Regions from separate parts of the Homo sapiens genome. Here region 2 is linked to region 1. The links are contacts of gene promoters, found by promoter capture Hi-C in blood cells and fetal thymus (Javierre and others, 2016). All regions are on one chromosome and are shown on one strand. The core of a region is centred on a gene start or on the middle of the fragment in contact, and the rest is flanking DNA. Distances in the headings are between cores, read along the strand shown. Region 1 holds the start of MMP1 (matrix metallopeptidase 1). Region 2 has its middle 56 kb from the start of DCUN1D5.

Region 1 (6,447 bases), core at 3,712-6,211:
TCAAGGAAAACCAGCTGACCAGCCCAATGGTCATCATAAATGATTATAACTTTAGGAGGCTGATGAGGGAGGATCACTTGAGGCTAGGAGTTTGAGACCAGCCGGAACAGCATAGCAAGACCCTGTCTCTACAAAAATAATAATAATAACAATTAGCTGGGTGTGGTGGCATACACCTGTAGTTCCCCAGTTGCCGTACGAGAGCTGTAGTCCCAGCTACTTGAGAGGCTGATGTGGGAGGATCACTTGAGCCCAGGAGGCGGAGGCTGCAATGAGCCATGGTTATGCCACTGCATTCCAGCCTGGGCAACAGAGCAAGACTCTGCCTCAAAAAGTATAATAATAAAAAAATAAAGAAAGAATTATGGCTGAGGCATAAGTAGTTAAGAGTAATTAAAAAGAACTGGGTAGCAGGCTTAGAGAACATTTCACTTTGTGAAAAACAGAAAAATTCTGAAACAATGGAATATAGTTTGAATTCTGAATCATGGACTAAAAGCTCTGCAGGCCACACACGTGTGTATGTCACAGACTCCAAACAAGCAAGTCATAGTCTGGGCACATGATCAAAATCTCACAGGAAGCTTCCTCACATATTTCAAATCCATCTCAAATTCACATTCACAGATGTAAGAGCTGGGAAAGGACGGTTTTGACAGGGCTGAACTGAGCTATGGTATGAGTAGCACTCATCCCCAGAAAGTCTCTTGGTTTGAATTTCCTTTAAAAGGAGCTATAGCTGCAAAAATCTGTTTCACAAATGTGCTAACTATAAGCATTTTCCACAGTGTTTAATAAACCATGCAGATAAGAAAATATTATTGACAAACAAATTAATAAAATGCTCAAAATAATCTGATACTAAATGCTTGTAGCATGGCATGCAAATCACCAAAAATAAATGTGCTATGCTTCATATAAAATCTCCAGTAAGGCTGAGTGTGGTGGCTCACACCTATAATCCCAACACTCTGGGAGGCCGAGGTGAGAGAACTGCTTGAGGCCAGGAGTTTGAGACTAGCCTGGCCAACATAGTGAGACCTCATCTCTACAAAAAATCTTAAAAATCAGTGGGACATGGTGGTGCACATCTGTAGTTCTAGCTACTTGGGAGTCTGAGGCAGGAAGATTGCTTAAGCCCAAGAGTTTGAGGTCCCTACACTCCAGCCTAAGCGACAGAGGGAGACCTTGTCTCTAAATAAATAAATTAGTTAATTGAATGTCCAGTCAGTTGATATATCCAAATTCTTCCCATGGTAATTTTAAAAACTTTAGTCTTAGGAGAGTAAAAGTCATGGGCATAAGACTTCTTATAAACAACTCAGCCTAATGAGAAATAGACCCTTTATTTAAGTGTCATTTAAGTATCTATTTCTTCATTGATCTATTCATTTATTAACTCATGTAACAATCATTTGCAGACACCTACTATGTTGAGGTAGTATAAACTATAAATTCAACAAGTTTGATAAGGGAAATAAGAGAGATTGAGTGACAGCTTGAAGGGGAGGATTCTTTCAGGCCTGTGGGACCGGGTGGTGGCATGGAGACATTATTGTGGACTTGAGGGAGTTAATGTGACAGTCCTCGTGTCTCCAGACACTTTCTCTCTGTTAGGGAAGCAAGATTTCTATCCCCAGAGTATGTATGTGTTATGTCTGGACTGCAGTGGCACAGAACTGTGTTCAACGAGTGACTACCGCTCTGCTGTGTGCCCTGGGACTTGGGGTTAATTGATCAATCATTTCTACCCAGAAGGTAACCATGAGGACTGACGGAACCAGTGTGTACCAAGTGTCTGTTAAGTGTCTGGTCAATGGTTATCCATAAAGCTACTGCATGGCCATATGTAGGAAGAATACAGACCGTGGGGCAAATTTTTCCCACGTGTAACTCTCACAACAAAATAGCATTAAATACTTAATGTTTCTGGCTAAAGACCATTTCAAGACTTGCAGGACAAAAAAATAGAAAAAATATCTGACACTCAAATGGAGTTACAAAATTAAAACGGCTGAATTCCCCAGCATAAAAAAATATGAAGCAAGATTGAAATTTCAAGACTAAGTTTAATATGGAAAAATACAAATATGTTTGAGGCCTTTCACAGAGCAGCCAGCATGAAGCAACCAAGAAAACCACGGAAATAATCTGGCTGCCTGGAAATAGTCCGGAGTCAGCTGACACAGCCACACGAGAGCCCTCTTATGCTTGTCATAAGGGGTAAAGGAATAATTTCAGAAAATTACATTTAAAAGAGAATTATGGGGGAAGAAGATGCTCCCAGAGGAAACAAATAGTATGGATGTGAAGAGCAAATACAACTTTAACATGTTCTGAACTTCTTGGAAACTATGCTAAGTTTAGGCATTGCTAGGATTTGGTATGATTTAATCCCCAGCTTTCTGTTCTAAATTTTTGTTTTCTTTTTTACTCTCAAATAAATCATATGCTAGCACCAGCTGCAAAGTTACATATGTTGTATTAGACGATCTTCCATGAATACCTAACTGGAAATTCCAAGATTCAGGGCCATGTGAATCTAGGCTGGCTGCTTAACCAAAACTTAATTTAATTTTTTTCGTTTATTTTAGGAAAAAAAATTAACGAAAAGATGTTTCAAGCAACCAGTTTCCAATCCACGTCAGCAACTATGACATTTAATGAAACACTATGAGCATTTAGCATGAGAGCTCTGGACTCAGATGCAGGGAGCTTTGCTAGAGAAGGGAGGAAAAAGCAGGCATGATGTGGCGGGTTGTGGGGGACTCCAAGGCTCTATTTCCAACTTCCATCAGAGAACTTCTGTTTTCACCTGGTTTTCAAATTTGCTTTCCAAAAGGGATTTTGTTTAAGTAAAGGATACAGAGGTTTATAAAAGTTTGAAAACTTCTACATTGCAGGATGTGCAGGCTCTTGCCAGATGGGACAGTGTATGAGACTCTTCCAGGGTGACGTCTTAGGCAATTTCCTGTCCAATCACAGATGGTCACATGCTGCTTTCCTGAGTTAACCTATTAACTCACCCTTGTTTCCCAGGCCTCAGTGGAGCTAGGCTTGTCACGTCTTCACAGTGACTAGATTCCCTCACAGTCGAGTATATCTGCCACTCCTTGACTTTTAAAACATAGTCTATGTTCACCCTCTAATATGAAGAGCCCCTTTCACTATTTTCTTTGTCTGTGCTGGAGTCACTTCAGTGGCAAGTGTTCTTTGGTCTCTGCCGCACCCTCCCTCTGATGCCTCTGAGAAGAGGATTTCCTTTTCGTGAGAATGTCTTCCCATTCTTCTTACCCTCTTGAACTCACATGTTATGCCACTTAGATGAGGAAATTGTAGTTAAATAATTAGAAAGGATATGACTTATCTCAAATCAATCCAAGATATACTGAAGTATTGTTTATGAGTAAGATATCAGTCTTGACGCAGAAAGAAAACAGGAATCCATAAGGGGAGGAAAGTGTTGAAAAGCAAACCTGATACAGTGGGAAAGGTGGGAGACACCATAAGGTGCTGAAGTGATAAAACAGGCCAGTGTTTCTCCACTGTATGTTTTCAATAAATGCTTCCAAGGAAGGAGAGTGGGGCATGAGTAGGGGAGCTACAGAGATAAACCAACTTTTCTTACCAGGAATGCTACAGATAGCACTGGTGACACCGGTCACCAGTACCCAAGACAATTTAATGTGGAACATAAGTACAGGAATACACATCTTTCATTACAGAGCCATGTATTTATTTTAATGGGCAGGAGATGCTAAATAAGATCTTTTGAATGGAGGAATGCATAAATATATGAATGAATGCATACATGAAAGAATAAATAAATGCTGCCTAGCACCAAGGAGCGAAGATAGACTCATATCAAGGGAAACAAGTATGATTAAAAATAAGACCCCAGAGTCACGCTCAGTCTCTTTCCAGCCTTTTCATCATCCGGTACATTCAGACAAGTTTCAGGGAAGGATCCTATTTGTCCCATGATAATGATGGGCAAGGGGTGGGGAGTTATCTCATACTCCGCCTGTGGATGAGGGGTCTTCTCAGGTAAGGCTCTTAAATCCTAGGCCTGAGTAAATTTTTTCAAATTTTATTTTAGACAGGGTCCCTCTCTGTTGCCTAGGCTGGAGTGCAGCGGCACAATCACAGCTCAATGCAGCCTCAACCTCCCAGGCCCAAGTGATCCTCCCACCTCAGCCTCTTCAGTGACTAGGACTACAGGTGCATGACTCCATGCTTGGCTAACTTTAAAAAATGTTTGTTTGTTTGTTTGTTTTTTACAGAGATGGGGTCTCACCATGTTGCCCAGGCTGATCTTGAACTCCTGGGCTCAAGTGATTCCCCTGCCTCGGCCTCCTGAAATTCTGGGATTATAGGCTTGAGCCACCATGCCTGGCTCTGAGTAAAGATTAAGGGAAGCCATGGTGCTATCGCAATAGGGTACCAGGCAGCTTAACAAAGGCAGAAGGGAACCTCAGAGAACCCCGAAGAGCCACCGTAAAGTGAGTGCTGGGGGAGCTGAACTTCAGTCAGTACAGGTGCCGAACAGCCATCAGGTGCGCAGTGTTAGTAATTCCACCCTCTGCCCTGGGAGCAAGGTGTGTGGAGAAACCTGTAGCACTTTATGACCATCAGAACCAGTCTTTTTCAAAAAGACCATGGAGTACTCTTTGACCTGTGTATATAACAAGAACCTTTCTCAAATAGGAAAGAAATGAATTGGAGAAAACCACTGTTTACATGGCAGAGTGTGTCTCCTTCGCACACATCTTGTTTGAAGTTAATCATGACATTGCAACACCAAGTGATTCCAAATAATCTGCTAGGAGTCACCATTTCTAATGATTGCCTAGTCTATTCATAGCTAATCAAGAGGATGTTATAAAGCATGAGTCAGACAGCCTCTGGCTTTCTGGAAGGGCAAGGACTCTATATATACAGAGGGAGCTTCCTAGCTGGGATATTGGAGCAGCAAGAGGCTGGGAAGCCATCACTTACCTTGCACTGAGAAAGAAGACAAAGGCCAGTATGCACAGCTTTCCTCCACTGCTGCTGCTGCTGTTCTGGGGTGTGGTGTCTCACAGCTTCCCAGCGACTCTAGAAACACAAGAGCAAGATGTGGACTTAGTCCAGGTAAATGCTGCATTGCATGTGACAATAATGTAAATTTTTAGTTTGTATTTTTCTGCAGTAATGTAATAGAGTTTTTTAAGGATAGGTTTCTTATAAAGAGATTTTTTTTTTTTTTGCTAGAAACAGCACCCTCCACCCAAAATGTATCTAGCCATGCATACGCTCTCTTTTTCCAGTTGGAGGTGAGAGTGAACTAAAGGAACAACATCCAAACTTGTCTCCACAAATTGTAGACTTGTAACAGTATGCAAATCTTGCTCTACAAAAATTGCTCTACTATGAAGTTCTTACTTCACAATAACTAATAGTAGGGACATTTCTACTCTGAAATTTCATTTCTCACCAAAAATAAGGATAAAAGCAACTGCGAAATCTAAACACAAGGTTTAAAAGCAGTTCTCTGTTTTGGCTAAAACTTAATGCCATCAATTTTTAGAATAATGAGAAAGATTTCCCATGCAGTGTTTCGATAATTTTCTTTTGTCAGAAATACCTGGAAAAATACTACAACCTGAAGAATGATGGGAGGCAAGTTGAAAAGCGGAGAAATAGTGGCCCAGTGGTTGAAAAATTGAAGCAAATGCAGGAATTCTTTGGGCTGAAAGTGACTGGGAAACCAGATGCTGAAACCCTGAAGGTGATGAAGCAGCCCAGATGTGGAGTGCCTGATGTGGCTCAGTTTGTCCTCACTGAGGGGAACCCTCGCTGGGAGCAAACACATCTGACCTACAGGTAGGCAGACTGAGGGCCAGAGTGAGAGAGCTATTTCCCATGACAGTGGTAAGAAGTCATGTCCAATGTGTCTCTATTTTGTTTCATTCTAAGGATTGAAAATTACACGCCAGATTTGCCAAGAGCAGATGTGGACCATGCCATTGAGAAAGCCTTCCAACTCTGGAGTAATGTCACACCTCTGACATTCACCAAGGTCTCTGAGGGTCAAGCAGACATCATGATATCTTTTGTCAGGGGAGGTAAGTTCTTCTTATAGCACCTTAACCTCACCTTGCCCCTAGATCTCGTAGCTTTGCAACTGGAATTGATTGTTTAAGATGAATGTTGATTTTATGGGCTCGAAGAGGGAAACTGCATCACAGTTGATGGAAGTCTGTTGGCCTCTTAACAAAGCTAATGCTTGCCCTTCTGGCTTAGCTTACATAAGAACCACAAGGAATCTTTGTTGAATTGTTTCTTTCAGATCATCGGGACAACTCTCCTTTTGATGGACCTGGAGGAAATCTTGCTCATGCTTTTCAACCAGGCCCAGGTATTGGAGGGGATGCTCATTTTGATGAAGATGAAAGGTGGACCAAC
Region 2 (5,760 bases), core at 2,042-4,541, 240 kb before region 1:
ATTTGTTTCATTAATCTGTTTCATTTTTGTGTGCTCTTTATTATTAAAAATGTTTTTATTTTTTATACTGAGATAAAATCTGCTTCCAAGTGGAAAGACGGCATGGCATTGTGGGACAAGCATAGGTTTGGGCTCAAAAAATTGGGATTTGGGCCCTCAACTTTTCCACTTTGGGTAAGCCTCAACTTTTCTGAATTTTAGTTTTCCAACCTATAAAATGGTGGTAATGGTAGTGTATGCATTGCCTAACTCTCAAGGTAATTATAAGAACCAAATGATATAATTAATAAGACAGCTCTTTGCAAAGAATAAATCCCAATAGAAAAGTCAGTTATTCCTATTTTACCTTCTGGGACTTCGTAGAGTAATTCTACTCAGTGTTAAAAAACACAATGACACGACTCATTACAACTTCTTTCTTTAGGCTAAAGTGCCCTCTTTTCTTATAAGTTTTAAAAATATAAAGTAGAAGTTTTCATACAAAAACTCCCCCTCATTGCCTCCTGCTAGATCCTCTCTAATATGTCAAATACTGCCTTGAAGCGTCCCACAGAACTGGACCACGACGCAGAATCATCCTTACCAGCATAGAATACACTTGTGTCGTAACTGTCCTTGGCCTGGATCTGCTGTTTTGATCATGAAACCTCAAGGTTTTAGACATTATATATCACTGCTAAGCTATATCGAGTTTGTGTTTGACTGAGAGTCAGGTCTTTTTCATATTAGCTGCTGTCAAGCTACGTCTTCCAAGTACTGTATTCACGTGGTTGTGTTCTTTTAACCTCAATGTAAATCACCACATTAATTTATATTTAATTCATCTTACTGGTTTTAGCCCATTATTCCCATCCATTGAGATTTTCTTGACTTCTTATTTTGATCTACCAATGTCTAACTATTTCCACAAGTTCTATGACATCTGCAAAATAGTAAGCAAGTTCTTGCTGGCATTAGCCACATTATTGGTAAAAATGGTGAATAAGATTAAGGCTTTGGAAGTATCTTTTCTTCTCACTAAAGATTTTTCTTTAAGCTAGATTATTATTGTCATAGTTAATGAACAGCCTATCACAGTTATTGGTGACAGCCCTGCTTCTTCCTAATAGATTGTGAGACCACAGTTTGATCTTCTTAGTATCTCTAAGGCTTAACATAGTGCCTGACAAATATTTGCTGCTTAATAAGAGTTTATAATTGAAGAATGAATGAATGAACTGACATATGTCTATTAATTAATATGCTTTGAACATGATTATTTAACTAGATACATGGCTCATATAATTTAGCCAACATCCAACTTACATTTTCTTTTTTATTTTCATAAGGATATTTACTAAGATTTTGTCATATTTGTCCTAAATCTCTGGAAGCATTCCCTTGATCTACTGATTTAATAACCATTATAGAAGAAAAGCAGATACACTAATATGACTTGTTTTTAGTGAAATCATCCATACTTACTTTTATTTAACACCTATTTCTTTCCTGGATTATTCCTATACTTTTTATGTAATTACTTTCTCTAAACGTTTGCTTCATGACCTCCTAATTACCATGTGTTCCTCCCCATGGGATGTACATTTGTGCAAGTATCTCTCTTCCATCATCATCTTCTCCTTCTTTGCTTCCCATTTTGCTCCTTTCCCTGCTCAATCAATCTTTTTAAGTTAAACAGTTTATTCAGATGCATTATTGAGAATAGGCTCCTCTTTATCTTTAGTTCTCCTGTTCTTATTCAGTTGCTTTCCTACCTTACTTCTTCCTGTTTTTGTACCAAAGTTGAATAAAAGTATAAGTATGTTGAATAAAATTTTGAGCTCCAAGATTTTATTTTATTAAAAAAAAACACAGAAAGAAACATATTTTCTCTCTACCTAAGCAGCACAAAATCTCTCCAACCAATAAAATTACATTTTACTTAAATTCCATTGACAAATGAGTAGGTCAGTTATCCCCAAATGCAGACCCTTTTCCTTCTAGAGAATTTATTGCAACAGAGATCTCTGTAGGGATCTTTCTGAATAATGATGACTTGTGATATTTTATGTCTTCTGTGTTTCTCAGGAGGCTTAGGAGAACATTCTGTTGTCATTCCAAACTCTATTGTATTTACCATCAGCATTTAATTCTTGAGTCGTAGTTTGGGTTTTGTCACAAGAGAGGGCAGGTTTGTCTTAGGCTGGTTTTCTGGTAGTAGAGTTAAATGAGGCCATTGATCAGCATTTATGTTTAGCTTAAGGAAATGTCATCATCTTGTTTGCTTAAACCATAAACACAATCCTCAGCTATTTCCTGTAAAATTTTGCTAACTAGTAATATCTTCTGTAGTGGAAAATATGTGTCATTCTCTTAAAGGCTGTTAAGAACGGAAGTGTGTCCTTGAAAAATTCATATGTTGAATGACTCCCCCATGTGGCTGTATTGAAGATGACACCTAAGGTTGGAACTCTTATCTCATAGAATTGGTGTCCTTATAATAAGAAGAGGAAGAGACCCAGTGTTCTCTCTCCACCATGTGAGGACAAGGCGACAATGTGGCCATCTGCAAGTTGGAAAGAGAGTCCTCCTCAGAACTGGACCCAACTAACGTCCTGATCTCAGACTTCCAGCCTGCAGACTGTGAAAAAATAAATTTTTGTTGTTTTAAGACACAAAGTCTGTGGCTTTTGTTATGGCAGCTCAAGCTGACTAATTCAATGGCTTAATGGTATCTTCATCTGAAAGTAATTAGTAGCTGCATTTCTTCATATGAATTCATAAACTTTACCATAAGTCTGTCAGTCCAAGGGTACCATTAATAGTATGTCATGTTTTGCTCCACATGCCAGCCTTTCTAATAGTTTATCCAAAATTATAATACCTTTTATATTTGGGGTGCTGCTTTTTCTTTTTCCAGTTAAGAAATGTATGAATTTACACTTAGAAAATTGGCTTACTTCATCTGATGTTTTTCAAAGGACAAGATGTAATCTCTGAGTCTTCAATTAATAGAAAAAAAATGTGTGAATCATAAAATCCAAAAAATAATGTTAAGAGAGTCTTTAATTGCAGCCCTGTGAGTTCTACCTCAACCAGTAACTAAATTAATGGGTGATGTACCACTGTGTCTACTACTACTACTACTACCACTGTGATCAGTCAGTGACCTGATCACTCCACAGATGTGAAGTTCTGTACTTCCCCTCAGATACCTCTGAAGCTTTGTTAAGTTCATTTATCAGTTTTTCCTCCTTGAGTGCAGGATCTGTGAAAGGTATTTGTAAAACAATCAAAGTATCTCAGACTCAACAATGCCTCTAACCTTGGAAAATTAATGTAACCTACTAATTTGTGAATGTTAAAAAGTTAATCTTTTGATATCAGTGTAATAAGCTTTAAAAGATGAATAACACTGTCCTTTTCATAGTTATTATAGTTTTCATTAAGATTAAAATAATATAGGTAAAGGTAATTAATTTAAAATATAATAAATTCACACAAAAGGAGAAGCATGAATAAAAAGACTTAACTATATGGCTATAAACAACATGAAAAGGTAAATGGCAAGTTAGGCCAAATATTGGTGACAGGTAGGACAGACAAAGGGTAATTTAAAACATAAAATACAGACATTGCAACAAATACCTAAATGCAAAAATACTATAAATACAGAAAAAAATTAACTATCATTTATATTTTTTAAATTAATTAATTTATTTTTATTTTCTTATTGTTATTTCTTGAAACAGAGTCTCACTCTGTCACCCAGGCTGGAGTGCGGTGGTGCAATCTGGGTTCACTGCAACCTCCACCTCCTGGGCTCAGGTGATTCTCATGCCTCAGCCTCCAGAGTAGCTGGGACTACAAACACTCATCACCACGCCTGGCTAATTTCTGTATTTTTAGTAGAGATTGGGTTTCACCATGTTGCCGAGGCTGGTCTCAAACTCTTGTCCTCAAATGACCCGCCCACCTCAGCCTCCCAAAGTGCTGGGATTACAGGCATGAACCACCATGCCCAGCCGAGTATCATAACAGCACAAACAAACATAAAATGCCTGTCTACAAATCTAAGAAATGTGTGCTGAAAACCATAGAACACTAACGAGAGACTTAAAAAAAAAAACCTATGTAAATGAAGAGATATTCTGTGTTCATGGATGGGAAGACAATTTTGTTAAGATAAATTTTCTCCCCAGATTGGGTTACAGATGCAATTCAGTTCCACAAAAAAATCTTGGCATGATATTTTTGTAGAAATTTATAAACTGATTGTAAAGTCTATATGAAAAAAGCAAAAATAGTTGAATAGCCAAACAATTTTGAAAAAGAATCAGATTGAAGTATTCTCACTACCTGATGTTGTCTTATTATAAAGTGAGAATAATCAAGGTAATACGGTATTGGTAAAAGGACAGACCCACAGACAAAAAAGGAGAAATAGAGAGTCCAGCAATAGATCTACACACCTATCCTATACCCAATGTATTTTTTACAAAGATGAGAAGGCAATTAAATGGAGAAAAAGTAGTTTGTTTTAACAAGTGGTGATGGAACAACAGAATATTCATATAAACATATGTATATGAATATTAAAAATTTACATACATAACATTACAAATATATTTATATGAATATTGCATATTCATATATTTATATGAATATTCAATTGTGTGTATATATATATACACACACACACACACACACCCCCACACACACACCCACACACACACTCTGACCCATTTCTTGCACCATAGGCAAAAATTAACTGAGAAGGGGCGGGGGGCAGTGGCTCATGCCTGTAATCCCAGCACTTTGGGAGGCCGAGGCGGGTGGATCACGAGGTCAGGAGATCGAGACCATCCTGGCTAACATGGTGAAACCTCGTCTCTACTAAAAAAATACAAAAAAATTAGCTGAGTGTGGTGGCGGTCGCCTGTAGTCCCAGCTACTCCGGAGGCTGAGGCAGGAGAATGGCGTGAACCTGGGAGGCGGAGCTTGCAGTGAGCCAAGATTGCACCACTGCACTCCAGCCTGGGCGACAGAGACTCTGTCTCAAAAAAAAAAAAAAAAAAAAATTAACTGAGGTGGGATTATAGGCCTAAATGTGAAACCTAAAACCATAAAACTTCTAAAAGAAAACATAGGAGAAAAATTTTCTCCTTTAAATAGGCAAATATTTCTTAGATAAGACACAGGAAAGTCAGAATCATAAAAGAAACAACTGATAAATTTGACCTAATAAAAAATTTCCTCTTTGAAAAGATACTCTTGGTAAAGACATGTTTTTTGGAAAGATACTATTAGGAGAATGAAAAGATGAGACACAGACTGGGAAAAATATTTGCAAAACACATATCTGATAAAGAACTGCTACCTAGAATATGTAAAGACACTCACAACTCAATAATAACAAAACAACTTCATTTTTATTTATTTTATTTTAATTAATTAATTTTTTAGAGATAGGTTTGCCCCATGTTACCTAGCCTGATCTTGAATGTCTGGCCTCAAGCTATCCTTCTGCCTCAGCCTCCCAAAGTGTTGGGATTACAGGTGTGAGCCACTGTACCAGGCCAACTTCATTTTTAAAACAGGCAAAAGATTTAAAGAACTATTGTACCAAAGAAGAAATAAGAATGGCAAATAAACACAAGGAAAAATGCTCAACATCATTAGTTAACACAGAAATGCAACTTAACACAGAGTGAGATAACATCACATACTTAGTAGAATGACTAAAATGAAAAAGAAACAAAAAACAAGAAAGAGAAAACA

The links. Contacts are between HindIII fragments. The CHiCAGO score rates a contact against its expected background, and 5 or more counts as called.
Region 2: a contact is called between a fragment that was not itself captured here and the fragment with the promoter of MMP1 in region 1, in 3 of 17 cell types (endothelial precursors, M1 macrophages and M2 macrophages). The highest score is 9.6, in endothelial precursors.

The regions. Positions count from the first base shown.
Region 1 is chr11:102,796,674-102,803,120 of GRCh38, reverse strand. It overlaps MMP1 (matrix metallopeptidase 1), which reads left to right and starts at 4,961. Exons shown (of 10, transcript NM_002421.4): 1 at 4,961-5,133; 2 at 5,621-5,865; 3 at 5,959-6,107; 4 at 6,332-6,447. The coding sequence starts at 5,029. It also overlaps the pseudogene WTAPP1. The HindIII fragment of the contact is 10,818 bases long and covers 587-6,447 here.
Region 2 is chr11:103,032,799-103,038,558 of GRCh38, reverse strand. No RefSeq gene overlaps it. Among named protein-coding and RNA genes, the nearest start is that of DCUN1D5, 56 kb to the left of the region's middle. The HindIII fragment of the contact is 173 bases long and covers 3,205-3,377 here.